Linked DNA regions of Homo sapiens: regions 1 and 2 are each linked to region 3. Evidence: promoter capture Hi-C in human tissues and cell types (Jung and others, 2019). All regions are on one chromosome and are shown on one strand. Each heading gives the region's core, a stretch centred on a gene start or on the middle of the fragment in contact. The rest is flanking DNA. Distances are from core to core; before and after follow the strand shown.

The links. The method cuts DNA at HindIII sites, captures the fragments that hold promoters and counts their contacts. A contact is called where the count stands out against the background at its distance.
Region 1: a contact is called between a fragment that was not itself captured here and the fragment with the promoter of PAFAH1B2 in region 3, in 3 of the 25 tissues and cell types used here (aorta, dorsolateral prefrontal cortex and pancreas).
Region 2: a fragment that was not itself captured here is called in contact with the fragment with the promoter of PAFAH1B2 in region 3 in 1 of the 25 tissues and cell types used here (bladder).

The regions. Positions count from the first base shown.
Region 1 is chr11:117,308,131-117,311,867 of GRCh38, reverse strand. The region is part of intron 1 of BACE1 (beta-secretase 1); the gene reads left to right. Among named protein-coding and RNA genes, the nearest start is that of BACE1, 6.3 kb to the left of the region's middle. The HindIII fragment of the contact is 6,827 bases long and covers 1-3,737 here.
Region 2 is chr11:117,328,394-117,332,225 of GRCh38, reverse strand. The region is part of intron 1 of CEP164 (centrosomal protein 164); the gene reads right to left. Among named protein-coding and RNA genes, the nearest start is that of CEP164, 2.5 kb to the right of the region's middle. The HindIII fragment of the contact is 5,196 bases long and covers 1-3,832 here.
Region 3 is chr11:117,142,810-117,146,783 of GRCh38, reverse strand. PAFAH1B2 (platelet activating factor acetylhydrolase 1b catalytic subunit 2) reads right to left here and starts at 2,497. Exons shown (of 6, transcript NM_002572.4): 1 at 2,366-2,497. RefSeq lists an enhancer at 1,238-1,417 and a silencer at 1,968-2,287. The HindIII fragment of the contact is 6,098 bases long and covers 1-3,974 here.

The sequences.
Region 1 (3,737 bases), core at 962-3,461, 170 kb before region 3:
GGAGTTCGAGACCAACCTGGCCAATATGGTGAAACCCCGTCTCTACTAAAAATACAAAAATTAGCTGGGTGTGGTGGCGCGTGCCTGTAGTTCCAGCTACTCGGGAGGCAGAGGCAGAAGAATCTCTTGAACCCGGGAGGCAGAGGTTGCAGTGAGCTGAGATTGCGCCACTGCACTCCAGCCTGGGTGACAGAGCAAGACTCCGTCTCAAAAAATAAATAAAAATAAAAAGAGTAGGACTGAAAGACACAGGCACAGGGGGCTGTCACAACAGTCCAGGTGTGAGGCCCTCTATGACAAGGAGGGCATGAGGCTGCAATAAGATGGAAAGAGAAAGGAAGGGCAGGATGCAGAGAACGTGCCAGGGCAGGTGGGAAGGATTTGGTGACATTGGTGTGAAGGGAAAGGAAGAGGGCATCAAAGATGGTTTTGAGATTCTGATCTGGGGTGAACTGGAGGATAACAAGACTGTGGGAATAGGAAAGGTGGCAGGAGGGGATGGCTTATAGTACTTGTATACAAATTTATTTGCTTGTTTATTAATTACAGGGTCTCTCTCTGTTGCCCAGGCTGGAGTACAGGGGCACAATCGTAACTCCTGGGCTCAAGTGATCCTCCTGCCTCAGGCTCCTGAGTAACTTGGATTACAGGCACATGCCACCAGCCCCAGCTGATTTTTTCAAATTGTCTCACTATGTTGCCCAGGCTGGTCTCCAACTTCTGGGCTCAAGTGATACTTCCACCTTAGCCTCCTATTAGTTTTTCCCTTACAGCAATTCCTGCAATATATAAAAGGTCTTTACTTCAGTGAGCTGTGATTGCACCACTGCAATCTCCAGCTTGTCAGAGGATGACAGAGACCCTGTCTCCAAAAAAGAAAAAAAAAAAAAAAGGTCTTTATCACTCACAGTGTCTAGCAGAAGAAATGGGGTTGAAAGGTTAAACCACTGGCCAGGTAGAAGGCCAGTAAGTTAAGACCTGTTTCATCCTTGTTCTTCCTACTGTGCCATTTGTCTTGGGGAAGAAGAAGTTATCACAAGCATCCCTCTTCCATTCTCCCATTACACCTGCTTATATCTCCATTACTACACTTGTAATGTATTACAACTGTTTTTGTGTTTGTTTCTCTCATAAAACTTCAAGCTCTGGCCAGGCGCAGTGGCTCACGCCTGTAATCCCAGCACTTTGGGAGGCTGAGGCAGGAGGATCATCTGAGGCCAGGAGTTCAAGACCAGCCTGACCAATATGGTGAAACCCTGTCTCTACTAAAAATACAAAAATTAGCCAGGCGTGGTGGCAGGCGCTTGTAATCCCAGCTGCTCGGGAGGCTGAGACAGGAGAATTGCTTGAACCCAGGAGGCAGAGGTTGCAGTGAGCTGAGATTGCACCACTGCACTCCAGAGCGAGACTCTGTCTCAAACAAACAAAACTTCAAGCTCTTAAGGACAATGTCTTTTTAATTTTATTTATTTATTTTGCAGTATCCTCTCTTTGTGTTATAATAATCTATAACAATACCAAGCTCAGAACATACACCTAAAAAACATTGAGTGAATGAATACATAAGCTGCAAGCCTCTAAACAGAACTGTTGACAGGCAGTTGTAAATGCAGAACTGTAGCTCTTAGAGAAAGTATTTTTATTCTTTTAAACGAAAGGGCCAGGTTCAGCAGCTCACGCCTGTAATCCCAGCACTCAGGTGAGGCCGAGGCGGGTGGATCACCTGAGGCTGGGAATTGGAGACCAGCCTGCCCAACATGGTGAAACCCCATCTCTACTAAAAATTCAAAAATTAGCCAGGTGTGGTGCTGCATGCCTGTAAACCCAGCTACTCAGGAGGCTGAGGCAGGAGAATCGCTTGAGCCCGTGAGGTGGAGGTTGCAGTGAGCCGAGATTGCGCCACTGCACTCCAGCCTGGGTGACAGAGTGAGACCCTGTCTCTAAATAAATAATAAATAAATAAAAGGATGTTATCTCATTTTGATATTATGAGCATCACTGACCAAACATAGGATAATAAGGTAACTGTTAGGAGTGAAATTTGGTGATAGTCAATTCAGTTTAACAGATATTTGTTGAGTACTTGCCTACTGTGTGTAGAAGAGAAAAATAATGCCATAGTCTTAGCCCTTGGACAGCTCACAATCTGATGTGAGACATAGACATAATACCTAAATATTACACAAAACCAAATGCATTTGGTACAAATAGTGAAACAGTGGATCTTGGAAGTGCACAGAGAGAAGCAGCTACTTCTGACATGGTATTAGGCACAGCTTGCTGGAAAAGGAGGGTTTTGTTTTGTTTTTGTTTTTGAGAGGGAGTCTCGCCCAGGGATCCACCCGCCTCAGCCTCCCAAAGTGCTGGGATTATAGGCGTGAGCCACCGCGCCCAGCCAAAACGGAGGTATTTGAAAGAGGAGAAAGCTTTGCAATATGGAGAGTGGTGAGGAGGAGCACTTCATGAAGAAAAGCGTGAACTGTGGTGAGAAGCCAGAAGGCATGGTGGGGATGCCATGGGGCTGACAGGACTTTGGGTTTTATTCTGCAAACAGTAAGGAATCCTTGTAGGTATACGAGAAGAGGGATGATATCGTCTAATTTTAGTTCCAGGAAAACAGCTTCAGTGTGCAGAATAACTTGGAGAGTCTAGCATCATGACTCTAGACATGCAAACAAGGATCTCAGGATACGGGGGCCTGAAAGAGGATGGTGGCAGTGAGGGTAGAAAGGAGGAATCAGCATTCATCCATCGTTTAACCAGTTATTCTCTGCGCTTGATGAGATGTATGGGGTGAGAGAGAGGGAAGAGGAGATGATGGCTTTATTTAACCTCTCTGACTTTTTGTCAGGGAACAAAGCAACAGGGGAAAGCTTTTGAAGCACAATATAGTTTTTTTGTTTGTTTGTTTGTTTTGAGATGGAGTTTCGCTGTGTCACCCAGGCTGGAGTGCAGTGGCGCGATCTCAGCTCACTGCAACCTCCACCTCCTGGTTCAAGTGATTCTCCTGCCTCAGCTTCTCAAGTAGCTGGGATTACAGGTGCCCGCCACCACCCCCAGCTATTTTTTTTGGTATTTTTAGTAGAGATGGGGGTTTCACCATGTTGGCCAGGCTGGTTTCAAACTCCTGACCTCAAGTGACCGCCCGCCTCAGCCTCCCAAAGTCTTAGGATTACAGGTATGAGCCACCGCACCCAGCCAGGAAGTACAATATAGTTTACCAAAGTTTATGTTTATTATTCTGCTTTAATTATAAGGGATAGGTATTAGCATATCTATTTCAGGGATAAGGAAACTGAGACCCAGAGAGACTAAGTGTCTTGTCCAAAGTGATTCTGTTAAGAAGAACAGAGTAGGGGTTCAAATACCGGGGCCTTTCCTTCCTGTGTTCTACGATCTGGGACATGCCTTTGAGATGCTAGTGGGTCATCCTCGTGGAAGTATTCAGCCACCAGCTGACAGTGGGAATCTGGAGAGAAGTTAGAACTGGACAGGCAGACAGGACTCATCCACAGAGAGGCCAAGTTAAAAAATAGACTTGTTCTTTGAGGGAACAGAGAGGGAAAGGAGAAAAATGATTAGGAAAAGAATATTAGGTATAGACAAGGGAGCAAGAGAAAATGATCAGAGCAGTAGAAAACTATGAGGGCTCAGAGTCTCAGAAACCAAGAAGGACCAGGTGGTTTTTCTTTTTTTCCTCTCCTTCCCTGCTTGGCAGGGTTCTGTAAAGGGACCTC
Region 2 (3,832 bases), core at 19-2,518, 190 kb before region 3:
ATGTCTCCTCCTCTGGAATTTTCCAACAAAGCCTAAAATAAGCCTATGTAAGCTGTCGGAGCTCAGTTACTGCTGTAACTGCTAATATAAAACCAAGGAATAGGCCGGGTGTTGTGGCTCACACCGGTAATCCCAATACTATGGGGGACCAAGGCCTAGGATCACTTGAGCCTAGAAGCTCAAGACCAGCCTGAGCAATATAGTAAGACCCTGTCTCCACAAATATATATATATATATATATATTAGCCAGGCATGGTGGCGTGCACCTGTGGTCCCAGCTACTCGGAAGGCTGAGGCAGGAGCTATGTGATCAGATGGAAAGGAAGACAGAGTTACATAAAGAGTGTAAAGTGGGGAGGCAGAGGTGGGAGGATCACTTGAGACCAGGAGTTCGAGGCTGCAGTGAGCTATGATTGTACCACCATACTCCAGCCTGGGCAACAGAGTGAGACCCTATCTGAAAAAAAAAAAAAATACACCAGCAATCTCAGAAGCTAGGAAGACCCGCAGTAGTTTTGGTCCACCTTCCTTCCCATGCCAAAATTTTCCTCTCTGTGCTTCCAGTGACAGGCGGCATAGTGGTCAAAGTACCAGCTTTGGAGACAGAAGACCTGGATTCAAATCCCAGCTCTCTCACTTAGCAGCTGTATGACCTTAGGCAAGGTGCTTCACCTCTCTCAGCCTCAATAACTGCATGTGTATAATTAAAACAATCTTAACAAAAATCAAAAAGCCTGAAAGTAAAATGAAACAACACTTATAAAGTGCCTAGCACAGTCCCTGTATACAGAAAAGTTACACAAATTTAGCTAGTATTACAGATTCTATTTTCAATTCCATAGTTAGATAATTCTTAACTATTAGAAGGTCTAATAGTAAGCCAATAATCAGGTTCTAAAAAAATGTTCCCTGGTATCTCAAGTCTGCCTTCTGCTCATCTGGGGACACCCTAGGATTCTCTAGCTAAGGTAGGCTAAGTATTCCCAGTTCTCTTCCATTCAGTACATATCGTTTCCCAGTCCTTCAATATTGTGGCTACCTTGCCCTGTACTTTGTCAGCATAGCTAGAGTTTTGCACATCTGCACACTAACAGAGAATATACACTCACAGACATAATGAGGGTTCTCTGTATATTTATTTCTTCCACCCTGCTCCAACAATTACAAAGAAGGTTGACCACAGAAAAGATTGACTGGAGAAGGTAAAGGGGAGAAGGTGGAAGATGTCAGAGTTGATTACGCAGTGGTAATGAGCAAAAGCTTTGGAACATTCTTGGCTTTCAATCCCAGCTCTGCCTCTTACTAGCTGGACAGCCTCAGTTTTCTCATCTATAAAATGAGAGTACTAACAATATCCATCACAATGTGTTGTGAGGCTTATATGATTCAATACATGTAAAGTGCTTAAAATATACTAAGGTCTCAATAAATGTTAGACATTACATTATTATGACTGCTATTCACCTATTTAAAAGGGTTTATTCTACCTTGCTCCAAAGGACATATCCAGCACCAGGCAATATAAGTTAAGGCCATTCAGACATTAAGTAATCACTTTTTCTTTGCTTTTTTTTTGAGACAGAGTATCATTCTTGTCACCCAGGCTGGGGTGCAATGGCACGATCTCTGCTCACTGCAGCCTCTGCCTCCCAGGTTCAAATGATGCTCCTGCCTCAGCCTCACGAGTAGCTAGGATTACAGGCGCCTGCCACCACGCCCGGCTAATTTTTGTATTTTTAGTAGAGATGGGGTTTCACCATGTTGGCCAAGTCTCGAACTCCTGACCTCAGGTGATCCGCCCGCCTTGGCCTCCCAAAGTGCTGAGATTACAGGCGTGAGTCACCGCGCCAAGTAATCACTTACTGAACACCCACCATGGGCCAGACATTGTGCGACGTGTTAGGGCTACAAACCTGATTACACATGGCCCTGAACTTGAGCTCAGCCTACCTGGAAAGCCAAACACGTAAACACATGACTACAAAATGTGTTACATGAATTAAAGGAAGTAACATAATATATAACAGAACACAAAGGTAAGGGCAAATAATCTTAGGAAGATCAGGGAAAGCCTCACAGAGGACAATTGAGATAGTTCTTGAAGGATAAGCAGGTGATCCCCAGGATAAGCGGAGTAAGGGAATTCACGGCAGAGGAACAACATGCACAAAGGCAAAAAAGAAGAAAATCATAAGGTGGGTGCAAAGAATTAATTATGACAACAAAAGCTTATAGCCACTGAACACTTCCTATGTTACAGGAACTGTACTGAGTGCTCTATATACATCATCTCACTTCATCCACTCAGCAAAATAGAATTATCTTCACTTTTCAAATAAGGAAACTGAGGCTTAGCAAAGTTAAAAAAAAAAAAAAAAAAAAAAAGGCCAGGCGCAGTGGCTCACGCCTGTAATCCCAGCACTTTGGGAGGCGGAGGTGGGCGGATAATGAGGTCAGGAGATCCTGACCAGCCTGGCCAACATGGTGAAACCCCGTCTCTACCAAAATACAAAAAATTAGCCAGGAGTTGTGGTGCCCACCTGTAGTCCCAGCTACTCGGGAAGCTGAGGCAGGAGAATCGCTTGAACCCAGGAGACTGAGACTGCAGTGAGCCAAGATCGCACCACTGCACTCCAGCCTGGGCGACAGAGCAAGACTCTATTTCAAAACAAACAAACAAACAAACAAACTTGCCCAAGGTGTCACAGCTAATAAACGGTAGAGCAGAATATGTAAGTATCCATGTCTGACTCCAAAGCCCAAACTCTTAACCATTCTGACATGACCAGAGTGCAAGGGACAGTGGGAGGAGTGGCAAGACAGAGCTCTAGAATGAAAGGCAAGAGCATATTATAAAGGGCCTGGAAGAACAGAGGCTCTATCCTGTAAATGATGAGGGGCCATCACAGGATTTCACAAAGGAGACTGGCATGACCAGATCTGTAGGTCAGATAGACGATTCTAGCCAAGAATAGTGGTGCATGCCTGTAGTCCCGTCTACTAAGGAGACTGAGGTGGGAGGATGGCTTGAGGGCAAGAGTTCGAGGCTGCAGTGTACTAGGGTCACACCGGTGAATACCAACTGCACTCCAGCCTGGGCAACATACCAAGACCCTGTCTCTAAAATAAATAAATGATTCTGACAGCTGCATAAGAACTAATTACAGGAGGACAAGAACTGAGGCAGAGAGACCACTTAGGAAGTTATCCTGAAAGCACAAGCAAGAAATTATGAACTAAGTCAGTGTCTGTGAGGATGGAAAGGAAGCGCCAGATTCTAGGGGAATTAAGAGGCAGAATACAGGACTTGAACTTCGGGAGAGAGGAGGGAAATCAGAGCACTAAAGCCAGAACACTGTGACTATCATTTCTAGATGTGTTCATTTCTATGCCTCGTCCAATAGGCAGCCCCACCTACTACACTGCCTAGAAGACAGGGCATGTCCGACAAATGTTTGCTGTATTTATTAGATGAATAAATTAAAGGGACAGACTTGGCTGAGTGAATGGTGAAGCCCTTCATTGAGATAAAAAAATACAAGAGGAGAAACAGATCGGAGGGACCGGGGAAGGCTGACGATGACAGTAAGCAGGTCTGAGCTCAGGAAAGAGGTCTGGCTGGAGTAGTTTGGCGAGTCAACGCTGAAAAGCTGATAACGCAAGAGATGGAGTGCGCCGAGTAGAAGGGAGCTTTCTACTGCCAAGGACTGAGTTAGGAGAACGGACAGGGAGTCGCTGAAGCCAAGTGAGGAGAGCGGTGCCAGAGGTAGAGGGACATTTTTAAATCCAATGCAAGAAAAGGAAAAAACAAAAAAGCTTTCCAACTTTCCC
Region 3 (3,974 bases), core at 1,248-3,747:
AGTGATCCTGCTGCCTTGGCCTCCCAAAGTGCTGGAATTACAGGAATGAGTCACAGCACCCAGCCGGCTGTGTTTTGTTTTTTGTTTTTTACCCCGACAGGGTCTCAGTCAGTCGTTAGCTGGAGTGAAGTGGCGTAACACAGCTCACTGCAGCCTTGATCTCCTGGGCTCAAGTGATCCTCCCATTTCTTCCTTCCAGAGTAACTGGTACTGCAGGCCCACGCCACCACACATGGCTAATTTTTAAATTTCGTAGAGACGAGGTCTTGCCATGTTGCTCAGGCTCCAGCTGTTGTATTCTTTCCAATTGAAACGAAGAATTATCTGCTCTTATGGACACATAAAATAAGAACGAACTAAGAGCTACCCAGTGGTAAGACGCAAACTTCTGAGTGACTTTGGGTTTCCTGCGCCTGTTATCCCAGCACTTTGGGAGGCCGAGGCGGGTGGATCACTTGAGGTCGGGAGTTCAAGACCTGCCTGGCCAACGTGGCGAAACCCCGTCTCTACTAAAAAAAAAAAATACAAAATTAGCTGGGTGTGGTGGCACATGCCTATAAGCTTGAACCGGGAGGCAGAGGTTGTAGTGAGTAGAGATCGCGCCACTGCACTCCAGCCTGGGCGACAGACTGAGACTCCGTCACACACACAAAAAAAAAAAAAAAAAAAGAAAGAAAGACCAAGCAGAATGCAAATAAAAGGTCTGAAGAACAAGTTTTGTTAATTTGCCACAACAGACTGTACTCCAGGGGAAGCTTTGTTGTCCATTAAAGTGAGTTCTCTGGGAAGACGAGGAGTAACCGACTTGCACGATTTTCCTGCCTTTTCTATATTCTCTACTTACTATGACAATACAGCACTAGAATTTCCAAGTGCTTATACCAGCATAGTGCAATGTATTTAATGAGAAACCACGTCCAACAACAAAGCGTTATAACTTCTCCAGCTGAGTTAGATGTTTTAGTCTGAACCAGGAAAACAGATGAAGAAAGTTGAACCAAGAATTAAAAGATTTAGAGTTTCCACTCAGACCTAAGACTCTCCACTTTGTTTCAGAGGGAGTGGGTATGGTTATTCTGAAGAAGAAGGCGGCCCTTATCCTGAATGCCCGGTAGCCTCCGTGGGCTGGTGGGTGGTTCCTCCGGTCCAGCACCTCCATAATTTATGATCAAATGCCCAAGCCAACAAACTAATCCTCCCCTTCTCCCCCACAAGGAGGCAACCTTTATGTCAGAACAATGTGCCCAGAAGAAGCCAAAGACACAAGGCACATCCAAGGCAAAGACAATCTTAATTAAGCACTTTCTCCTTCCACTTTCTCCACACCTTTACCCCCGGCCCAACCCCTTCCCATAATTTCAAGCTGTACAAAATGAGGTCCTAGGGTGGATCCGGGTGGTCTTTCCTTTCTCTACGGGTAAGCTCTACAAAGAGGCGAAAGCTCCGAGTGTTAGTTCTTGTTTGTGTATAAATTCTGAAAAGCAACGCTGGCCTGCGAGCTATGAAAAGCAGAAGCATGAGTCACCACGCAACGGGTCAATCAAACCTGTAGACCAGAAGGCACGGATCTGGCAAACGGACGGTGAGCCAGGAAAAAAACATCCCCCCAAACCTCTCCGCTGACAGGTTTATCTAGCTGGCTGACCTTGGGCAGGTCACCAGCCGCTCCGAGCACATTCATGTCTAAGATGAGATGGGGGCTGGAAAGCCTTCCAAGAAATAATCCCTTCCGAGTGGTGACGGTCTATGCAACTTTTGAATAAACACATCCTAAGAGGCAACGGAGAAGTTTCTAAAGAGTTGAAATTTTTCAACAAAAGGAGGAGGGAAAAGTGCTCGGTAAAAACACAACGGAGTAACTGGTTTTGGCCTCCGACCAGACGCGAGGGGAGAGAAGAGTGAGAAGTTAGACCCCTGTGATAAAGGGAAAAGGCAGCAGCGGAGACCCGGGCAGGAGCTGCAGCGCCCAGCCGGGGCGAGCTGGGGTGCGCAAGGCCTACCGCGGGTGGGCCCGGCAGGGCAGGGCAGGGCAGGGCGGGGCGGGGCGCCCGCCGCGCTACCCTCCTGGGAAAGGCCGTGGAGGCGCCGGCCGGCGGCTGAGGAGAAACGCCAGCTTTCGGTATGGAATATCGGGAAAGGGCTCTCAGAGCGAAAACTAGCTGCGCCGGCTGCTGGGAAGCCGACGCTGGGCCCGCAGAGAAGGCGCGCGCTCGCGAGGCCCCCCCCAAGTGGATGGGGCGGCGTGGGGGGAGGGGCCGCAAGGGTGGGGGAGGGGAGGTCGCGGGCCTCTCACAATAACACCTCGCAGCCCCTTCCGACCCCCGCCTCTAAGCCACCGGTTCCCTGCGACCCTGGATGCACTCACTGAAGTAGAGGGTCCGTGCGGGCCCCAAGCGGCTGAGGCGTCGGCGGGTGGCGCGTCGGTCGCTCGCTCGGTCCCGTCGGTCCCGCTCCGGCGCGTCCCTCCTCCGGCCCCAGCACCAGCAGCAGCTCCTCCACTTCCGGTTCCCCTGCCACTCAGCCAAATGGCTTCCGGAAGTCCCGCCCCCATCCTGCCACGCCTCAGCGTGGTTCCTCTCTCCCCGCCTTCGCTCTCCCGGGCGCTGGCGGCGTGCGCCCAGGTGTCCCGCCACACCCCGTTGGGTACCCTGCTTTGTTCTCGCGGTTACCCCCATTTTGTGTGGCGTCTGAGGGACATGGGCTTCTCTCTTTACTCCAGCTGCATCTCTCAATCCTGCGTTCGTGCCACCGCAGTGTGGAGCTGGCATTCGGGACGATGTGGCGTGAAGTCACACTGACGCCATTCCCTTCACACTCAGCCAACTTGGCTTCCTCTTCCACCCATGGAATAAACCAGACTGCTGAAAGTGGGAGGGAAATAGCGGACCAAGGTTAAGGAGGCAGTACCTGACATTTATTAGTGGAATTTCTGTTTCTATGATGAATGTGGAGATTTTGGGTGACCGCCTGTAAAGGTGATACATAGGGGGATGACGAACCCCAGGCTTTTCCTTAAAAGATACATCCAGTTTAGGGGAAGACATACATATACAAAGTCAATATTGAAAAGATTATATGCTAAATAAATGCAGGATCTATAAAAGTAGAGAGGAGGGGCAAGAGATGTGCTCAAGCTTATAGCAGCGCAACGGTTGCTGGAGCAGTGCCCTGAACTGGCCCTTTAAGGATCTCAGCTCTATGCTGGTGAATAGGCAGAGCCTTCCAGGGCTCTTAAACTGATGCGGGGGTGGGGGTTGATTTTGCTGACAAAACCTGTTAAGAATACTGTAAAATCCTGGGAGCCTAAAATGTCAAGATATGTCAAGTAATTTTTCTTTTTTTTTTTTTTTTTTATTCAAGTTCTAGGGTACATGTGCACAACGTGCAGGTTTGTTACATAGGTATACGTGTGCCATGTTGGTTTGCTGCACCCATCAACTCGTCATTTACATTCCGTATTTCTCCTAATGCTATCCCTCCCCCAGCCCCGCAGTCCCCGACAGGCCCCCGTGTGTGATGTTCCCCGCCCTTTGTCCAAGTGTTCTCAGTGTTCAATTCCCACCTATGAGAACATGCGGTGTTTGGTTTTCTGTCCTTGTGATAGTTTGCTGAGAATGATGGTTTCCAGTTTCGTCCATGTCCCTGCAAAGGATATGAACTCATCCTTTTTACAGCTGCATAGTATTTCGTGGTGTATATGTGCCACATTTTCTTAATCCAGTCTATCATTGATGGACATTTGGGTTGGTTCCAAGTCTTTGCTATTGTGAATAGTGCCACAATAAACATACGTGTGCATGTATCTTTATAGCAGCATGATTTATAATCCTTTGGGTATATACCCAGTAATGGGATGGCTGGGTCAAATGGTATTTCTAGTTCTAGATCCTTGAGGAATCGCCACACTGTCTTTCACAATGGTTGAATTAATTTACACTCCCTCCAACAGTGTAAAAGTGTTCCTCTTTCTCCAC